Linked DNA regions of Homo sapiens: regions 2, 3 and 4 are each linked to region 1. Evidence: promoter capture Hi-C in human tissues and cell types (Jung and others, 2019). All regions are on one chromosome and are shown on one strand. The core of a region is centred on a gene start or on the middle of the fragment in contact, and the rest is flanking DNA. Distances in the headings are between cores, read along the strand shown. Region 1 holds the start of JMJD6 (jumonji domain containing 6, arginine demethylase and lysine hydroxylase). Region 2 overlaps UBE2O (ubiquitin conjugating enzyme E2 O). Region 3 overlaps LOC105371896 (a long non-coding RNA gene). Region 4 has its middle 41 kb from the start of SNHG20.

The links. The method cuts DNA at HindIII sites, captures the fragments that hold promoters and counts their contacts. A contact is called where the count stands out against the background at its distance.
Region 2: a contact is called between a fragment that was not itself captured here and the fragment with the promoter of JMJD6 in region 1, in 1 of the 25 tissues and cell types used here (mesendoderm cells).
Region 3: a contact is called between a fragment that was not itself captured here and the fragment with the promoter of JMJD6 in region 1, in 1 of the 25 tissues and cell types used here (psoas muscle).
Region 4: a contact is called between a fragment that was not itself captured here and the fragment with the promoter of JMJD6 in region 1, in 2 of the 25 tissues and cell types used here (IMR-90 fibroblasts and hippocampus).

Annotation. Positions count from the first base shown.
Region 1 is chr17:76,725,259-76,727,958 of GRCh38, forward strand. JMJD6 (jumonji domain containing 6, arginine demethylase and lysine hydroxylase) reads right to left here and starts at 1,348. Exons shown (of 6, transcript NM_015167.3): 1 at 1,089-1,348; 2 at 209-597. The coding sequence starts at 1,217. METTL23 (methyltransferase 23, arginine) reads left to right here and starts at 1,581. Exons shown (of 5, transcript NM_001080510.5): 1 at 1,581-1,920. RefSeq lists enhancers at 1,221-1,850, 2,481-2,700 and silencers at 1,272-1,401, 1,512-1,961. The HindIII fragment of the contact is 13,681 bases long and covers 1-2,700 here.
Region 2 is chr17:76,434,704-76,437,403 of GRCh38, forward strand. The region is part of intron 1 of UBE2O (ubiquitin conjugating enzyme E2 O); the gene reads right to left. Among named protein-coding and RNA genes, the nearest start is that of UBE2O, 17 kb to the right of the region's middle. RefSeq lists an enhancer at 2,024-2,525. The HindIII fragment of the contact is 4,739 bases long and covers 1-2,700 here.
Region 3 is chr17:76,250,146-76,252,845 of GRCh38, forward strand. The region is part of intron 5 of LOC105371896 (a long non-coding RNA gene); the gene reads right to left. Among named protein-coding and RNA genes, the nearest start is that of RNF157, 11 kb to the left of the region's middle. RefSeq lists an enhancer at 1,965-2,034. The HindIII fragment of the contact is 5,873 bases long and covers 1-2,700 here.
Region 4 is chr17:77,045,803-77,048,502 of GRCh38, forward strand. No RefSeq gene overlaps it. Among named protein-coding and RNA genes, the nearest start is that of SNHG20, 41 kb to the right of the region's middle. The HindIII fragment of the contact is 4,903 bases long and covers 1-2,700 here.

The DNA of each region.
Region 1 (2,700 bases), core at 98-2,597:
TTAGCTGGGTGTGGTGGCGCATGCCTGTAATCCCAGTTACAGGAGGCTGAGGCAGGAGAAGCGCTTGAACTCGGGAGATGGAGGTTGCTGTGAGCCGAGATCGCACCACGGCACTGCAGCCTGGGCTACAAGAGTGACGCTCTGTCTCAAAAAAAAAAAAAAAAAAAAAAGAAAAGGATTTTAACCACTTAGCTGCAGAATACTTTACCTGTAAGGGGGCCTGCGCTTCTCCCCAGCATACTGGAAAAGGTCATCAGTGAAAAACTTTGGCACCTTGTAGTCTTCCAAAAGTTTCCTTCTTTTAGGGTGTTCACCATAGCTGCTGTCAAAGATGTAAAGGGGACTATCATCTCGAGTGCTCTCCATGTACTCGATGTAGTATTTCATCTTCATCTTCACTGAGTAGCCATCGTTATCCTCACCACACTTGAACTTCTGGTTCCGATATTTCCTTTTTAGGCGCTCCAGAGTCCATTTCTCCTGCGCAGACCAGCCCTCTTGCGCATTCAACAAAACCACGGGCTTGTAAGGTCTTTCATACCGCTCCACAAATTCTTCCACAGACAGCTGTAAAGCATCTGCCCTTTCCACGTTATCCTGAGGGAATTAAAAAAGACCTGTCCAGTTAAAAAAAAAAAAAAAGTCCAGTGGCAGATAAGGGTGTCCCCAAGGCCAACTGGTAATGACAAACCGAAGGAAGTTGACTCTCGTCTGGCTCCTCCGGGGTGGGGGCAGGGCGCGTGCGTGAGGCCACGTCGTTCCTAGAGCCACCCCCCATGAGCCTTGACAGCCAGGTCCCCTAGGGGACCCGCCGCCCAAAGGAGTCAGGGACGACGGGCCTTCTAGTTGAGAGCGCCACAGGCGTGGGACTCCCGTCGTCCGCCAGAGCAGACGGGCGGCCACAGCACGGGAGGAAGCAGACCCGCCCCGGAATCCGCGCCTCGGGGACCCCAAACTCCGCGGGGTGCGGGTGAGCCTCTACGAGGTCCCGGGCGCTCGGGGCGAGGGCAGCCTCGGGCCCAGAGAAAGGTGCGTAGCGGCTGGAGGTGCCGATGCCCGGCCTGGCCACCCCCGCCCGACCCGCTCACCGCCACGGCCGCCGGGCTCAGCGAGAAGCTCTCGTAGTAGTTGTGCCGGGTCCAATCCAGCGAGTCCTTGAGCTCCGGCCGCGCACTCCGCTTGGCCTCGCGGATGCGCTTCTTGCTCTTGTGGTTCATTCTGCGGGGTCGCCAGCTGGTTCCGCTACGACCTCGGCGCAGCCCGCTTCCTGACACTAACGCACCCCTCCCCGGCCTGGGCGGCGGCGACGGCAGTACCCAAACGCCCTTCGCTCAGTCCCGGCGCCTTTAAAGTCGCCTTCCAGAAAATTCACTCCCCAGCCACCTCCCGAGCCTCGGGTTGGGCAAGCGGCCGCCGTCTTCCCCGCCCCGACGCCTCTCGCGGTTTTCCATTGGCTTTGGCTCCCCTGGGGTACTCCTTCACATACGGCGGGCCTCCGCCATGTTGGGAAGGTCACGTCGGCTGCGTCACCGCCCCGCCCCGCCCCGCCCCTCCCCTCCCGCGCTGCCGCTGTGCCCATCACTTCCGGTCGCGCCAGCCGCCCGTTGCCAGTTCTGCGCGTGTGAGTCTCTTTCGCCTTGCTCCGGGCTTTCTTCGCTCGCAGCGCGGCAGGGTTATCACCAGATCTGGGCTTTCCCCTTCTTGCCGTCAGGTGCTACGGCCACGTGGCCCGCGGCTTCCCGCTCGCGCAGTCTGGCAGCCCGGAGCCTTCCGCGGTCCCCCGCCCGCCCGGGGCCCAACGACGCCCTACTGGGCGAGCACGATTTCCGAGGACAGGGGGTCCGGGCCCAGCGCTTTCGATTCTCGGAGGAGCCGGGTCCGGGGGCCGACGGGGCTGTCCTGGAGGTCCACGTCCCGCAGGTGCGTGCAGCAGCACCCGCCAGGAGGCGCCTGAGGTCAGGAGCGGATGTCGGCTGACTTGGCTGGGTTCCTGAGGGACCGGGGGTGCGGACGCTCAGCTGCGCAGCTTCCTGCTTTAGGTTGACCCCCGGAGCAAAAACGTCGGATATGAAGCCCTTCGGTGCATTAAATGTCTCTCAGTAAGAATTTTGGAGACCCTGCCAAGAAGTGACCCTGGTCACTATGTTGGTCAGGCTGGTCTCGAACTGTAAGCTTAAGTGATCCTCCTGCCTCGGCCTCCCAAAGTGCTAGGATTACAGGCATGAGCCACTGCGCCGGGCCGGCTTTCTCCACATCGAATCTTTCCTGCCAGGAAAGTGACATTCTTGACTGACCTCTAATGCTTCTTTTGATCTTGTCCAAGGGTTTCTTGATTCATCCTTATCTCTCACTTTTGTGTGAGTTTTGGGATCAGGGTTTCCAGTTTTATTTGGTGCCCAAAGTGTTTCTTGGGTTGGACCTCGCTTCTTCCTCTAAGCTCACAGCTACAACAAAACTCTCAATAATAATTCTTTTTCTTTTCTTTTTTTTGAGACACTGTCTCGCTCTGGCGCCCAGGCTGGAGCGCAGTGGCGCGATCACAGCTCACTGCAACCTCCAACTCCCGGATTCAAGTGATCCTCCCGCCTGCCTAAGTGCTGGGATTGCAGGAGTGAGCCACCATGCCCTGCCTGTCTTCGGTTTTTCAAAGCACTTTCACTTTGCAGTATTTCATTTGGTTTTAACACCAGCCTGTGAGGC
Region 2 (2,700 bases), core at 23-2,522, 290 kb before region 1:
CGACATGGCAAAGGTCAGGAGTGAAGTCGAAAGGCACCTGCGATGTTCTGGAAATGCTTTTTCACTTAAGCTTTTTTTTTTTTTTTTTTTTAAAAAAACAAACAAAAAAACAACTTTGTCTCTGCCCTCACAAAGGTCTTCTGGGTCAAATACCTCTGTTATAGTCCTTCCACCTCCATCGGTGGTACCTCTGGCTACTGAGAAAACCCTGCCCCAATAGAGGGGCTCGGGCGCGCCCATCCAGGGATCATGGATTCCTACACTATCCCCAAAATGGCAGAGCTGGGCTCTCCCTGCAGTGGCACACTAGGCTGGATTTAGCCCAACAGCCTGGCACAAAGGACAACAATGAGGAGAGGAAAGGGGAGGTGACGCACCTGGCAAGGCACTAAGGGATGAGATGCACCAAGCCAGCTGTGAGTCACCACGAAGCAAACGGGAAGGTCAGGATCCAGATCCAGGTTTGTCTGAATCCAAAGCTCTGACCTGCCAAATACAGAGCAGTTGTACAGAAAGCTACTATTTATGTAAAAAGCTAAAATATAAAAAAGGTATACTCACACACATAGAGTTTGGTCACAGTGGCTATCCCTGGAGAGTGAAAATGGTAGGAGGGAGACAAACATTTCACTACATATTTGTTTAAACCTTTTGAATGTTGTGATATTTGCATATATTATCTGTTTAAATATACAGATACACACACACACACATACACACACACACACACACACACACACACACACACACACAAAGATTAAGATTTAGTTTTCAGGTTGGCCTTACGAGGCAGACAAGCTAATTCGCAATATTCCCCCCGTTTACTGCATGGGCTTGGAAACACAGGGAAACAGACGCAGAGCTAAATTATCCCCCAGCAGCAGTGACCACTGGTCAGGTGCTGTGCTGAGCCCTCTCGAAGGTGATCTCGTGCAATCCCCAGTAACTACAAGATTCTGTCTTTTCTAGTCATGGACACTAAGCAATCACAGGTCTACATGCCCTCTCTAAGCCCTGTGTCTGAGGCCTTCTCTGGCTCACCTAACGCCTCTCAGTCCAGCCCTATGCTCGGGAGCCACATTCCCTGAGCTGAAGGCACGACAGACCAGCCTGTCCCGCAAAGCTCAGTGACACCCCGGCACAGAGGGGACAGAAAACAGTTAGCAAAAGGCCCAGTCAGCTGGCCAGAGTTCTAGCCCTCTAGATGCTGCTGACTAGCTGGGGATCCTGCAGATGTCACATCAAATTCTCATCATCGTTAGGCCCCGTGCGGTGGCTCACGCCTGTAATCCTAGCACTTTGGGAGGCTGAGACGGGCGGATCACCTGAGCTCAGGAGTATGAGACTAGCCTGGGCAACATGGCGAAAGCCTGTCTCTACTAAAATACAAAACATTAGCCAGGCATGGTGGTGTGCACCTGTAATCCCAGCTACTCAGGAGGCTGAGGCAGGAGAATTGCTTGAACCCGGGAGGCGGAGGTTACAGTGAGCCGAGATAGCACCATTGCACTCCAGCCTGGGCAACAAGAGCAAACTCCATCTCAAAAATTAATTAATTTATTAATTAATTAACAAATAAAAGACTAGAACAGCCATCCACTGAAATAATAAAGAGAAGTTATCCCCGAGTGGTAGAATTATGGGTGACTTTTTTTTTACCCACCTTTCCTATGTCCTTGCACTTTTGTATTAAGTATATAAATAACTTAATAGACCAATCAGGAATAAAGCTATAAATCTAAGGCAAATAAGAGGATGACTCCAGCAATTTTTCTTCGGTGCTGGATTGTCAGAGACTGAAGAACAGACTATTACACCTGGGACTTTCCCTCCTTGCTGGACCCTGAATCCCCGAGAGCCTAGACGATGCCTCCAGGCCCCTGCCCTGCACGCTGTCCCTCGCCTGCTGCTGCTCTGGTGTCCAGCCACCACCTCTCTACTCAAAAGTGCTATCCAAGGTTCCTCACAACTCCCAAACTGCCTCTCTTTACAAAGCATCCTACTTGACCCCTTGCCCTGACATCAAAAGCCACTGGCTAGCACCCTCCTTCTGAACAAAATTCAAAAAAGGTAACGCCTCTTAGGACAGAGTATAAAATGGGGATTAGTGAAAGATCAACGAGGAGCATTTATTTCAACATTTAAAAGGCAATTATGCTAGGCTGGGTGCAGTGGCTCATGCCTTTGAGAGGTCAAGGTGGGCAGATCACTTGAGGTCAGCAGTTCCAGACCAGCCTGGCCAACATGTTGAAACCATTTCTACTAAAAATGCAAAACAAACAACAACAACAAAACAATTAGCTGGCATGGTGGTGGGCACCCATAATCCTAGCTGCTCAGGAGGCTGAGGCAGGAGAATCGCCTGAACCTAGGAGGTAGAGGTTGCAGTGAGCTGAGATCCCACCACTGTACTCCAGCCTGGGCAACAAAGTGAGACTCCATCTTTAAAAAAAAAAAAAAAAGGTGGCAGGGCACAGTGGCTCACTCCGGTAATCCCAGCACTTTGGGAGGCCAAGGCAGGCGGATCACGAGGTCAGGAGATCGAGACCATCCTGGCTAACACGGTGAAACCCCGTCTCTACTAAAAATACACAAAATTAGCCGGGCGTGGTGGCGGGCACCTGTAGTCCCAGCTACTCAGGAGCCTGAGGCAGGAGAATGGCATGAACCTGGGAGGCGGAGCTTGCAGTGAGCCAAGAT
Region 3 (2,700 bases), core at 154-2,653, 480 kb before region 1:
TGAGCCACTGCACTCCAGCCTGGGTGACAGTGAGAGACTCCGTCTCAAATAATAATAATAATAATAATTTTAAAGTCAGAGTTTCTGGATTTCCAAGTCAGGATATGTATTTGAGAGTCTGCCCAAGATGAAACCGAGGTCCACGCACTTCCCATACCAGGTGAAGGCAGAGCCCAGGGGTTTCGATTTCCTGAGACATCACTTTTCTGTGTTCATTGAAACTCAAAATGCCAGAAACATGTCTCCCTTATCACGTGTGGTGGCTGCTAAAGGGCCAGAGAAAAAGATAGCCCAGCCCTGCTCCTTCTTAACAAAGTACTGCCAACAAGTCACTGCACTAGAAGAAAGCAAGGCCCCTAATCGGCCCTCTTGCCCCTGCTGTCTGGATTAGCCATCTGTGGACGTGTGTGGTGTGTGTATTTGCGGATGTGTGTATTTGTGGGTCAGAGTTTGTCTGCCATTGTTTTGGGGGGTTTGCTTTTTGTTTTGAGATACGGTCACCAGGCTGGAATACAGTGGCATGAACGTGGCCCACAGCAGCCTCGACCTCCTGTGCTCAGGCGATCCTCCCACCTCAGCCTCCTGAGGAGCTGGGACTAAAGTGCGCCACCACACCCGGCTATTTTTTTTAAGAGATAGGGTCTCACTATGTTGCCCAGGTTGGTCTCGAACTCCTGGGCTCAGGTGATCCTCCCGCCTCAGCCTCCCAAAGTGCTGGAATTATAGGCGTGAGCCACCGTGCACGGCCTTCTGCCATTGTTAACTTCTCACTTAAGTGCCATTTGCTAACTAGAAAGAATGTTCAAGTTCACTGAGTTGGGGCCAGCTCTCCAGGGCTCATAGTTCAGGAATTTTGCCAGCCAGTTGTTAAATTGTTGGTAGCGTAATGGGAGTATTTACAACACAGAAACCATCAAATGCTGCAAATCACAGCTTCCTCCCATTCTCCAGAGCCAGTTTACCAGCATACCCCTGGTCTTAGGTTTCTTCTAATCCCCCAGAAGGGCTGGGTACATTGCTTCCCATATAGAAAGTGCTCACTAAATGAATGACTATTTAGTTGTTGTTGTTGTTGTTGTTTTGAGACGGAGTCTCCCTCTGTAGCCCAGGCTGATGTGCAATGGCGCAATCTTGACTCACTGCAACCTCTGCCTCCCAGGTTCAAGTGATTCTCCTGCCTCAGCCTCCCGAATAGCTGGGATTACAGGTGAATGCCACCATGCCCAGCTAATTTTTGTATTTTTAGTAGAGATAGGGTTTCACCATGCTGGTAAGGCTGGTCTTGAACTCCTGACCTCAGGTGATCCACCTGCCTTGGCCTCCCAAAGTGCTGGGATTATAGGCGTGAACCACCGAGCCCAGCCAAGAATAGTCATTTTTGAGCAATGACTCTGTCCAAGCACTTTGGAATGCGTTGTCACCCGAGCTGGAGTGCAGTGGTGTGATCACAGTTCACTGCAGTCTCAACCTCCTGGGCTCAAGCGATCCTCCCACCTGAGCCTCATTTAATCTTCAAAACAACCCTAAGAGATAAGTATTATTGTTCCCACTTCCCAGATGAGGAAACTGGAACTCAAGTAGGCACAGGGAGCAGGAACTGGCCCCAGGTTCTTCCAGGTTCAAAGTCCTACATTTTACCCATGGATCATCATCTCACCAGCCTCTGTGGGGAAAGCCTGCCTGGGTGCCAGCCCTACTGCCCACCAAGCTAGCGGAGTGATTCTCCCAGGGTGGTGCCAGTGACAAAGGGCAATGCATGGGGACGTCTCCATCATTGTCACACCACCACCTCCACCTTCACTGTGCCTCTCTCTAGGTTTAATCTTTCTTCCTTTTCCTCCTCACTTCCCTCTGTATTATCAATCTCCTTCCTGTATCGGGACTATTTCCTCAACAGGCCCGGGGAAGCTCTTGTCTATGGAAGTCCTCTTTGGCCTTAAGCTTCCCTCTAAGAGCTCCAGCAGATGAGTAACCTGTCCTCCTGCAAACACTGCCATGAAGTGCGTAGGCAGCTGCCTGCCTTCAGGGCTGGATGGACACCCTGTTTCCTTGCTCAATCCCTTCTGATGACTGGACTCTGTACACAGTGTGGTCAGTGGGTCAGCTCTGATCTGGAAGCTCCCAAAGGCAGGACACAAGATTTTCTCTGACTGTTCCCAGGCCCCAGGGCGTGTTGGGCACGGGAGCGTGTGGCACGGATGTTGTTCGTGATGAGGCATATTCTAGTGGTTTCCCAATTCGGTTGTGTACAACCCAGTGCTCTAGTGTTCAGTAAATACTTCCTTCCTCTTTAGGCAGAACACTGGCTCTGTGTTTTATTAACAGCACCTCATGCCTGGCCCAAAGAATGATTTGTGTGGCTTGGGCTGTTGGGGTCAGAAATGGCATTCATTCATCATTCACTCTGGAGGTGCTGTGTTTCTGAAGGAGAAGGGGACCTATCCTGGCAAACAAATCAGGGGCTTTATGGTAAACAAACTCCTCTCTTCCCAGCACTTGTTTCTTGCTCTCTGTTTTTGATTTTCTCTCTCTTTCACTTTTTTTTTTTTTTCACTATACCCGGGCTTCCTGAGTTCCTGACAATTTCTAAAGCCTCAAGCATGATCTCATCAGAAACTCTGGCTTCTTTTAACATTTCTTTCCCTTCTGCTGAGTCCTAGTCCATTTAAATTTCCTCTGTGACTCTGGGAATTTTTTTTC
Region 4 (2,700 bases), core at 34-2,533, 320 kb after region 1:
TATCTCCTGGGCAAAGACAAGAACCCTCCTGGGCTAAGCCTCAACGTTGGGGTTCGCCTGTCCTACATCACAATGAGGATGGAATCCCACAGAGCAGGCCTGGACCTGCTTGCAGCATGAAGCCTACTCCAGCTGGGCCTAGAAAAGATCAGCCAAACCCTCATTGACCCACAGGCAAATGAGTAAGAAATAAATGCTCACTTTTGCATGCCATTGAGTTTTGGAATTATTTGTTAAGCAATAATAGTTGACTAATTCAAGGGAGCAGGCTTCCCTTTCTTCCCACATTCTCCCTAGCTGTCCTTTTGAATATTAAATCGGCAGCAATTAACACTACTGATCCTCCCACAAGAAGAAAATAAACTTGGAGTAGATTTGCCAGGAATGGGGGGTCCCTTACATGGAGCCACATTCATTATCTTGCCCAGGCTCCCCAGCAAACAGCCTTACCTTATTAATTATCAATATGGTTATACATAGAGCAAAGCTAGTTCAGCTGTTCGAGCCAATTGGCCAAATCCAGGCCCAATGCTGGAGGCTTGGCCTCCTTAATATGTGTAACCAGGCTGGGCATGGTGGCTCACACCTGTAATCCCAGCACTTTGGGAGGCTGAGGCATGAGGATCACTTGAGCCCAGGAGTTTGAGACCAGCCTGGGCAACATGGTTAGACTCTATTTCTAAAAAAAAAAAAAAAGAAAAGAAAAAAAATGTTTTAAATAGCTGGGAGTGGTGGCACCTGCATGGCCACAGCTACTCAGGAGGCTGAGGTGGGAGGATTGCTGGAACCCGGGAGTTCGAGATCAGCCTGGACAACATAGTGAGACTCCGTCTCTACAAAAAAAAAAAAAAAAAAAAATTAGCATGGTATGGTGGTGCACACCTGTGCTCCCAGCTACTTGAGAGGCTAGGGTGGTAGGATAGCTTGAGCCCAGGATGTCAAGGCTGCAGTGAGCTGTGGTAGTACCACTGCACTCCAGCCTCGGCGACAGAGTGAGACCTTATCTCAAATAAAATAAAGTTCGAACTAGCTGGTAACAGAGATCATCCTGGCACACTCAGAATGCTGTGCAGTCACCCATCCTTAGGAATCCATCCATCCCAAGGCGCCGTCCAGCTGCAGAGGTGCTAGATCAAAAGTAAGTGCTTCTAAAAGGTCTCGGAGAGTGGAGGGCAAGGGCTGAGTTCTCAGAAACATTCTTGCCTTGTCTGACATCAGGCAGCTTCTCCTCACCCCCTCCCTGGCCACACTCCTTCCTCACCTGTCTCCTCGCCCCATCCCAGCCCTTCTCTGCAATGCCTCTTCCCTCAGCTTACCCCCTGTCATGGTCCTAATCAATTCCCCAGCCAAAAAAAAATGTGTTCGTCCAGAGAGTTGAATCCTCAAATCACCCAGATAATCAATATTCGACTACTGTGCTACAGAGCAGGAGATCGATTTGCTGCCAGCCATTGCCAGGCAACTGGAAACTTTCATGCCATCCCCCTCCGACGAAGGCACCGTGGATAGTGGGGCAGCACTGCGGGGCTGGGTTTTAGGGATCAGTGGTGTGCAAATGCAGTGGACCGTAGGGAGAAGAGAGGGTCTTGCTGCTTTCTTTTTTAAAAAAATAAAACAGGATCTCACTCTGTCACCCAGCCTGGAGTGCAGTGGCATGATCATAGCTCTCTGCAGCCTCAATTTCCTGGGCTCAAGTGATTCTCCCACCTCAGCCTCCCAAGTAGCTGGGACTTGACAGGCATGGGCCACTGTGACTGGCTAATTTTTTTTTTTGCAGAGACTGGGTCTCACCGTGTTGCCCGGGCTGGTCTCGAATTCCTGGGCTCAAGTGATCATCCGCCTTGGCCTCTCAAAAGGCTGGGATTATAGGCGTGAGCTGCCATGCCCGGCCTTCCTGCTGCTTTCAAGACTTCAGTGATGTTCCATCCAACATTCTGGCTTGAGGAAAATCACTTGTTTAAAAATCCTTTTTACTATAGAAAATTTCAAATATTTGCTCAGAGGGATACTATAATGAAAATCCATGTACTCATTACCTAGCTTTAACAATTATCAACCATGGGTGAATTTGGTTTTATTCTACCAGTCCCTCTCTGCCATCGGATTATAGTTGAGCAAATCTTCAACATCATTCATAGATATTTCAGTATGTATCTCTGAAAGAGAAGAAATCTCTTTTTTCATAAATATTTCAGCATTTATTTGCAAACCTACGATGCCATTCGGTACCTGGTTTAATATAAAAATTTAGTTGTGTTTTTTATTTTTATATTTTTGAGACAGGGTCTCACTCTGTCACCCAGGCTGAAGTGCAGTGGCACCATCCTAGCTCACTGCAGCCTTGACCTCCTGGGCCCAAGTCATCCTCCTGCCACAGCCTCCCCAGTAGCTTGGACTACAGGTGTGCACCACCATGCCTGGTTAATTTTTTAAAAGTTTTTTGTAGAGATGAGGTCTCACTATGTTGCCCAGGCTGTAAAAAGGCTAGTTTTTTTTTTTAAAAAAAAATCTTATTCTCTTATTTTAATTGCAAAAGTAATACACACTCATACTAAATAAAACAATACAGAAATATATAAGAAGGAATCTTAAAAAACAAAAAACCACAACATCATTATCATACTTTCAAGAAATTAATCTTTGTTTCTCCATAGCATCAAATATCCAGTCAGTGTTCAAACTTCCCTAAATACCTTAATT